Linked DNA regions of Homo sapiens: region 2 is linked to region 1. Evidence: promoter capture Hi-C in human tissues and cell types (Jung and others, 2019). All regions are on one chromosome and are shown on one strand. Each heading gives the region's core, a stretch centred on a gene start or on the middle of the fragment in contact. The rest is flanking DNA. Distances are from core to core; before and after follow the strand shown.

Region 1 (4,997 bases), core at 2,487-4,986:
CGATTCTCCCCTGCAGAAGGAGGACTTAAGCTTCTTATCTGGGTGGGGGGTGGGGGCCCGCGGAGGAACTCGAACCACTCCACACCAAGCATGGCTGGGTTGCTGAAGCCGTCACCTGACAACAACCCCGTCCAGGGAAGGGTAGGCAAGGAAAGGGGGCAGGCGAGGGACAGCCACAGAGGGAAGCCCTGGAGAGACTCGAATGGGCACCGCAGAGCCCCGCCGGCCCAGGCCCTGCTGTCTGCCAACCCTGCGGTCCTGCTAAATAGGAAGGACCCTGTCGCCGCGAGAGGCCGCCGTCTGGGCCCGGGGCCCGAGGCCCGAGGCCGCGGCCTCTCCTTCCACCTTTCGCCGTCGTCTCCCTCTGCTTCTACCTGCCTGGTGAATATCTGAGGAAGGGGCTCCCAGCCAGATCCTGCTGGGAAGTGTAAGCTGAGGCAGCCAAGCGTGGTCAAAGGACCGAGTGCCGCTCAGGTACTGCGGGACTGCGCCGGGAGCAGGCCCCACGGGTGTAGCAAGGGCAGCTTCCGGGAAGGGCGGAGCCGCTTCCTCCGCTGGCGGCTACCCGGAGTACCCGCGCACCCTACAGTCCTCACTGCCGCGGATCCCCCACTTGAGGAGCCCGCCCTCCCCGCGACCTGGACCGCCCCAAGCTGTCGCAGACCCGTCTTAAACACAGGCAAGTTTAACCCGGGACACCGCAGGAGCCGCCACGTGCCTGCCCTCGCGGGTACCCTGCCCCGAGTCCACCCATCCTCCCCACAGCTGAAGACAGGCCTGGTTTCCTCCAACGAGCAGCACAATCCTTGCAAAGCACAGTTTCCAATGGTGTAGGTGCCTATTTGGGAAAAGAGGTTGGAAAAGAGCAGGCTGCAGCCGCTGGACCTGGCTACCGACTGGCCAGCAACTCCCAGACAGCAGCATTACTTTATGTATGTATGTATGCATTTCCAAGTCAAAGACCCAACACGACCCTGCTGATTCGCTTTTAAACCTCAGGGAAAGTGACTGGCTGGCATCTGGGTACACTAGAACCTCACCTCCTAAATTTGTTAGGTATCTTGCAATGCGGCCACTGAGATGGAGAGAGGCTGGGAGCTGGACGAACGGCCATCTCTCCTTCCATCTTGGCCTCGGCTCTAAGAACCTAAATCCCTGACTGGGATGCGTGCGGAGTTCAATCCAGTATCGCCTGGCGGTGCTCCCCGGAGGCGCCTGCGGGAAAATTCAGCTTTCCCTCTCCACGACAGGAGGCGCTGTTTTCGTGGAAATCCCCCGGCTGCGAACCTGGGATCCCTGACCTGGATCAAGTCTCCGAAGCTGGCAGAGTCCATTCTGCATCACCGGTCTTGGGCTTTGAAGAAGCCTAGGAGAAATTCCGCTTCGGCCATCACGCTATGAAAAGTGGATTTTTTTTTCTTAAGTCAATTTTTTTTTTTTGAAAATATGAGACTTAGTAGGTTTGGGAAGTGGGCTAAAAGAACATTTGATATTGTAATTGACCCCCCCTTTAAGGTGACAGTGTTTTTCCCCTACTTAAAGCGCCAACTTTTTTGTGCACTATAAAAGCTATTACTATCCATAAATTGTTACTCTCGGTAGAAAATAACCTAGTCTTGCTCGGTGTTATTGAAGAGCCAAGAGGGTATTGGAGAATCACCTCCAGAAGGAACAAGGAAGCTCATTAGCACTGAAAGTCCCCCGGATCAGGCCCAGGAAGCTAAGCATCCGTATACTTTACAAATGGAACTAAAGTCAGCTACTAATGGGAACTTTGCACAAAAGAATTAGTTTCTGACACACAATTCGCAGATACATTTACACAAACTGATGGGACAACTTGCAGTCACAGGAGCAGGCTGCATTAGGGAGGGTTCCTGCCCTACTGAGTTCCAGGTGGATTTAATTTCACTCATTCCTTTCCTTATGATGTGACGTTTCTACCCCCCCACCCTTTTTGTAAAAAAAAAAAAAAAAAATGTAATCCAATGCTTTTATCTTTTTTTATTTCCTTAACTGCACATCTTCACCCTCTCTGCTCCCCTGCTGACTTAAGAGATTTGTTTGGTTCAGGGATTTAAAGTGATTCTCTTGCCAGATTTCAAGTAAAAGAGATTTAAAAGAACAAAGCACAGGGAAAAAGGTATCTGTTTGGAAGACAAGTTAAAACACATTTCTTAAAATGAGATTAATAACATTTTAAAAACTTTGCAAAACAAGAAGATTTTGCGGATTCTTAATTACTTTAGATTTTATTTTATTGTTACTTAAGGAAACCTAGTGGTTCTACAGGCAGTACAACAAACACATGGTCACAGACACTCAGAAACACACACAGTCACACATGCTCAGAAATATACAAACGGTCACACACTCAAAACACACGCACCATCTCCCAATCTATCACCAACTAATTGCCTATCACCCGGTCACTTCAGTTGTTCTCTCTCCCAGGACAAGTGGGCAACCACCACCCAGGGCCTCATGAGAGTAAAGAGACTTTGCGTTGGGAAGACTCTCCCACCGACGTCCAGGACCGATTAGGAACCAAGCGAGCCCCTGAGATCTCAGCCCGGACCCTCCGGGTCACAGACAGGACCAAGCGCCGCTGCGGGCAGTCTCGGGCTTCTGCCTGGCATCTCTTTCGCAGTGCAGATGCGTTCCCGCGCCCAGGCCCTTGCTCTCCCAGCTAACGCGCGTGTTATGGGAGATGTCCCCTCCCCCTGACCTTTTCCTATCAGAAACCAGACGGTCGTCTCCAGCTCACTCCCTGAAGCGGCTGAAGGGGGGCGGGAGGAGGAGCCCGGCAGGGGGAGGACGGCCCGACTTGGGTCCGCCTGCCCTATCACACAGACATCTGCTCTCAGTTTCTTCCTCTTTGTGGTCGCTACAGATGACAAGGGGAGAGGAGCGGACCGAGGCGGAACAAAAAAAAAAAGTTATGTCATAAAGATATAAACCGGTGCTGTGACTCACCTGCTCTTAGCCGCAGGTACGAGTTTCGTGGCAGCGCCTCCGCTCTGCTAGCCCGGGGCCCGGGTCGGCCTAACGTCACTTGGCTCGGCTGACTCAGATGACCCGGTTTCTAGTGACGAAGCAAAAGTGGGGCTTTTTCCCTTTTCTAGTCTGAAGCTCTCAGGAGGAAAGAAAAAAAAAAGTCTGTATTCTCCAGTCTCCCGGGGTTGAACTTTGGGTCAGGAATCAGGAGGGAGGAAGCAAAGAGCAGGAGGGGCGCGAGACTGGGCCGCAGCCCGCGCTCGGAAGGTGGCGTGTACCTCTGGGGAGGGACCCCGGGGTCAGTTATCCCACAAGGTCTCTAAGCCCAGTCTCCGACGCCACCGCCCCCGGCCTTCTCCGGCTGCGAGGTTCCGATCCAGAGCCCTAGCCCGCCCGCCCGCCTGGCCCCGCCTATTTTTTCTTTTTCCAAAGGGGGTTACACCCCCTCCCTCCCCATTTCCCTCTTTCCCTAGCCTCCGGGCCTAAACCAATTACACTGCTTTGCAAACAAAGTGAGGGCCCCGCTTGGGGGAGGGGTCGCGGGGGAGGGGTCGCGCGCAGCGGTGAAGCGGCGGGGCGGGAGGCGCGGCGGCCGGACTGGCGGGCGGCCGCCTTGCAGGTGCACCTCGGGCTTTGTAGGTGCGAGCGTCTTTGTGCGGCGGACAAATGGGGAGAGGACGAGGAGGTGGGCACTCAAGCGACGTAAGATCCACATCAGCTCAACTGCACTTGCCTCGCAGAGGCAGCCCGCTCACTTCCCGCGGAGGCGCTCCCCGGCGCCGCGCTCCGCGGCAGCCGCCTGCCCCCGGCGCTGCCCCCGCCCGCCGCGCCGCCGCCGCCGCCGCGCACGCCGCGCCCCGCAGCTCTGGGCTTCCTCTTCGCCCGGGTGGCGTTGGGCCCGCGCGGGCGCTCGGGTGACTGCAGCTGCTCAGCTCCCCTCCCCCGCCCCGCGCCGCGCGGCCGCCCGTCGCTTCGCACAGGGCTGGATGGTTGTATTGGGCAGGGTGGCTCCAGGATGTTAGGAACTGTGAAGATGGAAGGGCATGAAACCAGCGACTGGAACAGCTACTACGCAGACACGCAGGAGGTGAGAGGCAAGGCGAGGCGGGCGGCCGGTGGGGCGCCGCTGGAGCCCGTGCCGGGGGAGGCCGGGGAGCGGTGGGCGCCAGGCAAGGCAGGCAGGCGGGCCGGGGGCGCCTTCTCGGTGCCACCGCTGCCCGCCCGCCGGTGTGGCCCCGGCCGGGCCTTGGCCGGGCCTGGAAGCGGGACCTGCTGCCCTGCTCTGTCCCGACTCTCGCAGCCGGAGAGGGAGTTTTAGGAAACTCCGGGCTTTGAAAACAGCGGCTCTAGGAAGCGCTTGCCTCTTCCCAGCAGCGAGCGGGAGCAGGAGCCGGGCCCGGGGTGCAGCGGGCGGGCGAGCGCCGGTGCGAGTTGGAAGCAACTCTGAGAAAGCCGGAGCATACCCACAAGGCGACCTCTTCGTCCCACCGTTTAATTCGCAGACGTCTTCTGATTAAAGCGCTCTGCCGCCAAGTTGGGTGTCTCAATAATGAAACGATTTCTAAATTTTGTAAAACTTGTTCTTCAAAAGCCCTATTTGGGGAGAAGTGTGCTCCTTCTCTAAAACCGCTGGGTGGCGCTAGTGCGACCAAAATCTTCTTCACAACTCTGGGCCGAGAACCTGTTTCTCTTCATTGTCCCCTTGGTGGCACGTTCATGGGGGTTATTTTTACAATGTGCACAAAAGGATTACAGGGAAAACCAGTTACAGGGAGGACTACCACCTATTAAAAGTATTTTTCTGGAAACAGCTGGCGATTACCCTCCAAAAGTTTAATTACCATTATTGAAAACGCGTATTGGAACTGCCTTGGATAATCTTGGGAAGAGGGAAAGAAAATAAAGCCCCAAGGTAAAAAATACTTTTAAGACGTGGACAGAAAAATATAGGATCACGTAATATTTTGATGGTAACTGACTTATTTAGATTTATGTATTCA
Region 2 (4,796 bases), core at 1,678-4,177, 950 kb after region 1:
CAGACAAGATGAAACATCTGGCTGACAGGATACTCCTCTTAGCTCAGGTTCTCTGTAGGGCTGGCTGTTTCTTGCTGGCAAAGGCAGATTTTCTTTTCCATGCTTGAGGACACGGAAATACAAATCCTCTTTAGAAGTCTAGGAGAAGGAGGCCACAAGGGAAGTGGATTTTCCAGCCGAGCTGAAACCTAGCTTCCAGATTCCTGAACCCAGGTGGCTGAGGACCCTTCTCTTGTTTGGATGTTTCACCTGATGTGGTATGGTCTTCCTTCCTTCTTGTAGCTTCCTTCCTTCCTTGTAGCTTCAGGAGGACAATAGTATCATCAAAAGGCAAAAATACCCAGCCAGAAAAAGAGATGTCCATAAATAGTGGCAGGCAGCTGGTACTTCACAATCATACCCTGTTGTAACACAGCAAACCCTGCACGTGCTGCTACCCAGTCAGTAGGGCAGGGCCACCTGTCTGTCCATCTCTCTGCTTCCTTCTTTCCTAAAGACAATTCCCCATTCACACTGTGTACCCTTTGATGTCCTGCTGAAGATGTTCAACAGGCCCACTCAAACAAGGATTGGCAGGAGACCCTCTCTGGACCCTTCAACACAGAATTTGGAAAACCCCAAAGGCCAGCCAAAAGGAAAGGTCCTGGATAACAGGCATCAACTTTCATATGGGGTGGGGGGCCGGAGGAGAGGAGTGGGAAGTGCGGTAGAGCCTGGGGAGGGGGTTGTGGTGGATTTGGCTCCAGGCTTTATCCCTTTAACCTTTCCCTGTCACTCTTTTCAGAGGGCTTGCTTCCTGCCCTTAAATGAAAGCCACAAATCACAGCTCTTGCCAGGCCAATAAACATAATTTTCTTTTTTGATAAGGCTGCTAGAATGAGGGGATGCTTATATCTTACTTTTGCACATGTTGCAGTTTTGCAAAGCATGTTTACATATATTATTTCATTTATTAATCTTGATAAACTTTCACTGTCTGCATATGGGGAATTGGAGACACAGAGAAATAAAGTGACTTTTATCTAAAGTGGAAGGTAGCAGAGTTGGGAGAGCTACAGACTTGTGTTTCAATAAGGCATTTGATAAACTATTTTATGGTAACCTTGGGACCGATGTGGCCTGGGTGACATAATGGTTGAGTGGCCCATTCATTCATTCTTTGAAATAAACAGCTTTTCTTTTAAGCATAGCCTATGTGTCAGGAACTGAGCTTAATAGTGGAGATACAAAGGTAGATAAGCTATTGTGCTTAACGAGCTCACAGATAAGTGAGAGAAGAGACACGTAAAAATATAATCACAGTAAGGCAATAATATAATGTAATGGAGTTAGATACAAAATGCTATGGAATACAAGAGAGCACCAAAGGGTGGTCTTAGGCTGATGAGAGCTTGTTGGAATGCTCTCATATGTAGAAAACATGACATTAGAAAGGATAAGAAATTTGAAGGCTGGGTATGGTGGCTCACATCTGTAATCCCAGAACTTTGGGAGGCCAAGGCAGGAGGATTACTTGACCCCAGGAGTTTGAGACCAGCCTGGCCAACATAGAGAGACTCTTTCTCTACAGATTTTTTTTTTTTTTTTAATTAGCCAGGCATGATGGTGCATACTTGTGGTCCCAGCTACTCGGAAGGCTGAGGTAGGAGGATTGGGCCCAGGAGGTCGAGGCTGTGGTGAGCCATGATGGTGCCACTGCACTCCAGCCTGGGCAACAGAGTAAGACCGTGTCTCAAAAAAAAAAAAAAAAAAAAAAAAAAAAAGAAAAGAAAAAGAAAAAAGAAATTAGAAAAAGGACGCAATCATACAAAAACAGCTTAATAGGCAGAATAATTGACTATAAATAACACTAATCAATATATGAGTAAATATAGAATTCTACACTCAGATACAAAATAATTGAACCAGTGTATGAAGATACCGTCAGGGATGGCAGTTTAGGTAATCTCAGGGCCTACAGTTGATTGTAAACTCAGCATGAGCCTAGAATGTTAATGTTCTTAGTTTGTGCAAATAGAAGTGGAGTATTCAGCATAAGGGTTATTTTCTTTACCGGGGTGGGAGCGAGTCTTGTTTCTGGTCTCCCCAAACATTGATAGGTTGATGGTATGTACGTGCAAAGGGAAGCCACACATGGTAAAGGATTCTAACCAAAGTCATACTCTATGGCTTATGGAACTAGAATTTTTGATAGAGACTGGAAGGCTTAGAAAGTATGGCATAGCTGTCCTCAAATATTTGAAGGGCTCCCAGGTAGAAAAGATGTTGAACTTACTCTGTCAGAGGAGCTCAGCAAAGCTTTTCTCGGTTTATAATACAGAGCCTAATGGAGCAAAGTCATCCTCTATGAGTTTGACTGTCCTTTCCTGCTGGATTCTAAGCTCCATGAATGCAGGAACCAACAGGTCTGATTCACTCTGAAACTCCTGTGTCTTGCACATAGAAGTTAATTTTTTTTTTTTTTTTTGAGAGAGTCCTGTTGCCCAGGCTGGAGTACAGTGGCACAATCTCGGCTCACTGCAACCTCCACTTCCCAGGTTCAAGCAATTCTCGTGCCTCAGCCAACTGAATAGCTGGGATTACAAGTGTGCACCACCATATCCGGCTAGTTTTTGTATTTTTAATAGAGACGGGGTTTCACCATGTTGGCCAGGGGTTTCACCATGTTGGCCAGGCTGGTCTTAAACTCCTGGCCTCAAGTGATCCTCCCACCTCAGCCACCCAAAGTGCTGGGATTACAGACATGAGCAACCTCACCAGATGAAAGTCAATGAATTTTTTTTTTTCTTGAGATGGAGTCTCACTCTGACACCCATGCTGGAGTGTAGTGGCACAATCTTGGCTCACTGCAACCTCTGCCTCCTGGGTTCAAGGGATTCTCCTGCCTCAGCCTCCGGAGTAGCTGGGATTATAGGTGACTGCCACTACACCTGGCTATTTTTTGTATTTTCAGTAGAGACAGGGTTTCACCATGTTGGCCAGGCTGGTCTCGAACTTGTGACCTCAGGTGATCCGCCCAACTCAGCCTCCCAAAGTGCTGGGATTACAGGTGTGAGCCACCGTACCTGGTGGAAGTCAATGAAATTTTGATGTAGGAATGAATCAATAAATTATTCCATGTGGTTTCAAAGGAGAGAACTGAGACTCAAGGGCAAAAGTGTAGAGTTGGATGACAAATGAACCCAACTAATTTGGCTATTAATTAGGATCATTGGTGTAAATAAAGATACACTGTTTAGATGTTTAATTTCAACCTTTGCTCACCTGTTCAGCAAGAAGCTTTTATTACCCTTAAACCTTTTCTTCCAGAAATGATGCTAACTAAAGAGGTACATGGGCTTTAATGGCCCTTAGGTGGCATGTCAGTTCCATGAGAACTGGAGGACACACTATACATAGGTTCTTAAGCATGGGAGGAATGTGAGGAGGGGCTAGATCAGATCTTATTTAATTTTAGCTGCAATTTAGATCTGTTAAGTTGTGGTCCCTAGAGTACCTAGGTCATTTAGGTACCCCAAAATGTTGTTGGGGTTTGGCTATGCTCTTTGCTAGTTCAGTGGGTTTTGAACTTTTTCAAAGGGACCACCCGCATGTTGTATAAAGAAGATAGCAATGAACCCTAGTTGTGGAACTGTGGAACCTCTGAGTAGCCCTAGGGTTCTGAAGGGCTCAGTCCCTGAAGCGCTGGCCTGTTTTACCCCAGATATGATGGCCATATGCCCTGACCAAACCGCAGTACAAAATTAAGCTTATGTGGAATGACTTCCAGCTCTTATCAGACCCCAAACTCCTAATTTTTTTAAGTCATCTATTACACTTTGCTGTTTTTTGTCTACTGATCTGTATCCAGAGTTTTAGCAAGTAGCATCTTCCTTAAATAATATACGTTGGTCTGCAGATATTGGAGGCTTGCTAGTTCTTAGAGCTCATGAAGACAAATGAGAGATGATGAGGAATGTCACTCAGGTGCCAAAGGATGCCAAACTCTGGCCTTTAGAATACTTAATTTTTCCATAATCAAGAAGCCACACATCAGTCCCCTCATTGCCTGTTGCCTACAGCAATAGCATTCTCTTTTTACTGAACATCTCAAAATACTTGTGGATTAACATTAGACTCAAGGAAGAGAAAGGAAAGGCATCATTATTGCTACTTTGCTGAGGAGGAAATAAGTTATTGTCCTCTCCTTCCCTACCCCTCCATGCATAGAATTAGTTATCTGAACAATTGCTTAAATGTTGCATGTAAATATCTCAATAAGAAGGCTTATAGTAATAATTATTATTATATCCTCTGTGCAAGGCATTGTGCTAAGAACATCTCTTACCTTATTTCATCCTCATGATAATCTATGAGAGGCTATTATGATCCTTATTCTATTAATGAAGAAACTGATGTAGGAATGTTAAGTAACTTGCTTGAAGTTACATAGGTGTTGTGTGGTGGACTCATAATCCAGAGCAACTTCATAGCCAGGTACAGTTACATGATTTATTTCTCTTATCTGATGCTAGCATCATGGAGGGATGGAAACCAAAGGAATGCAACTTATTTTTTTATCCAGCACTACTTTTATTTAAGAATTTATTGTGAAAAGGTATTTTTGCCTAGGAGAGTTCATCTTTTACTTCAATTGGTTTCAATTACTTAGATTTCTTGGTGATCCAGCTGCCTTGAGAAACAACATTCTGTAATACTTAGTCCAGAAAGTGTTGAACATGATCAAATAATATCTAGGTTAATCACATTTTGTATCTGATTCTGTCTGGGTCATTATTATAGAGTTAGAAAGGCTA

The links. Contacts are between HindIII fragments. The study calls those that stand out against the background at their distance.
Region 2: a contact is called between a fragment that was not itself captured here and the fragment with the promoter of FOXA1 in region 1, in 1 of the 25 tissues and cell types used here (dorsolateral prefrontal cortex).

The regions. Positions count from the first base shown.
Region 1 is chr14:37,593,988-37,598,984 of GRCh38, reverse strand. It overlaps FOXA1 (forkhead box A1), which reads left to right and starts at 3,736. Exons shown (of 2, transcript NM_004496.5): 1 at 3,736-4,084. The coding sequence starts at 4,013. TTC6 (tetratricopeptide repeat domain 6) reads right to left here and starts at 3,356. Exons shown (of 33, transcript NM_001310135.5): 1 at 2,977-3,356. RefSeq lists enhancers at 2,228-3,427, 2,941-3,800. The HindIII fragment of the contact is 7,361 bases long and covers 1-4,997 here.
Region 2 is chr14:36,641,291-36,646,086 of GRCh38, reverse strand. No RefSeq gene overlaps it. Among named protein-coding and RNA genes, the nearest start is that of PAX9, 18 kb to the left of the region's middle. The HindIII fragment of the contact is 3,703 bases long and covers 1,076-4,778 here.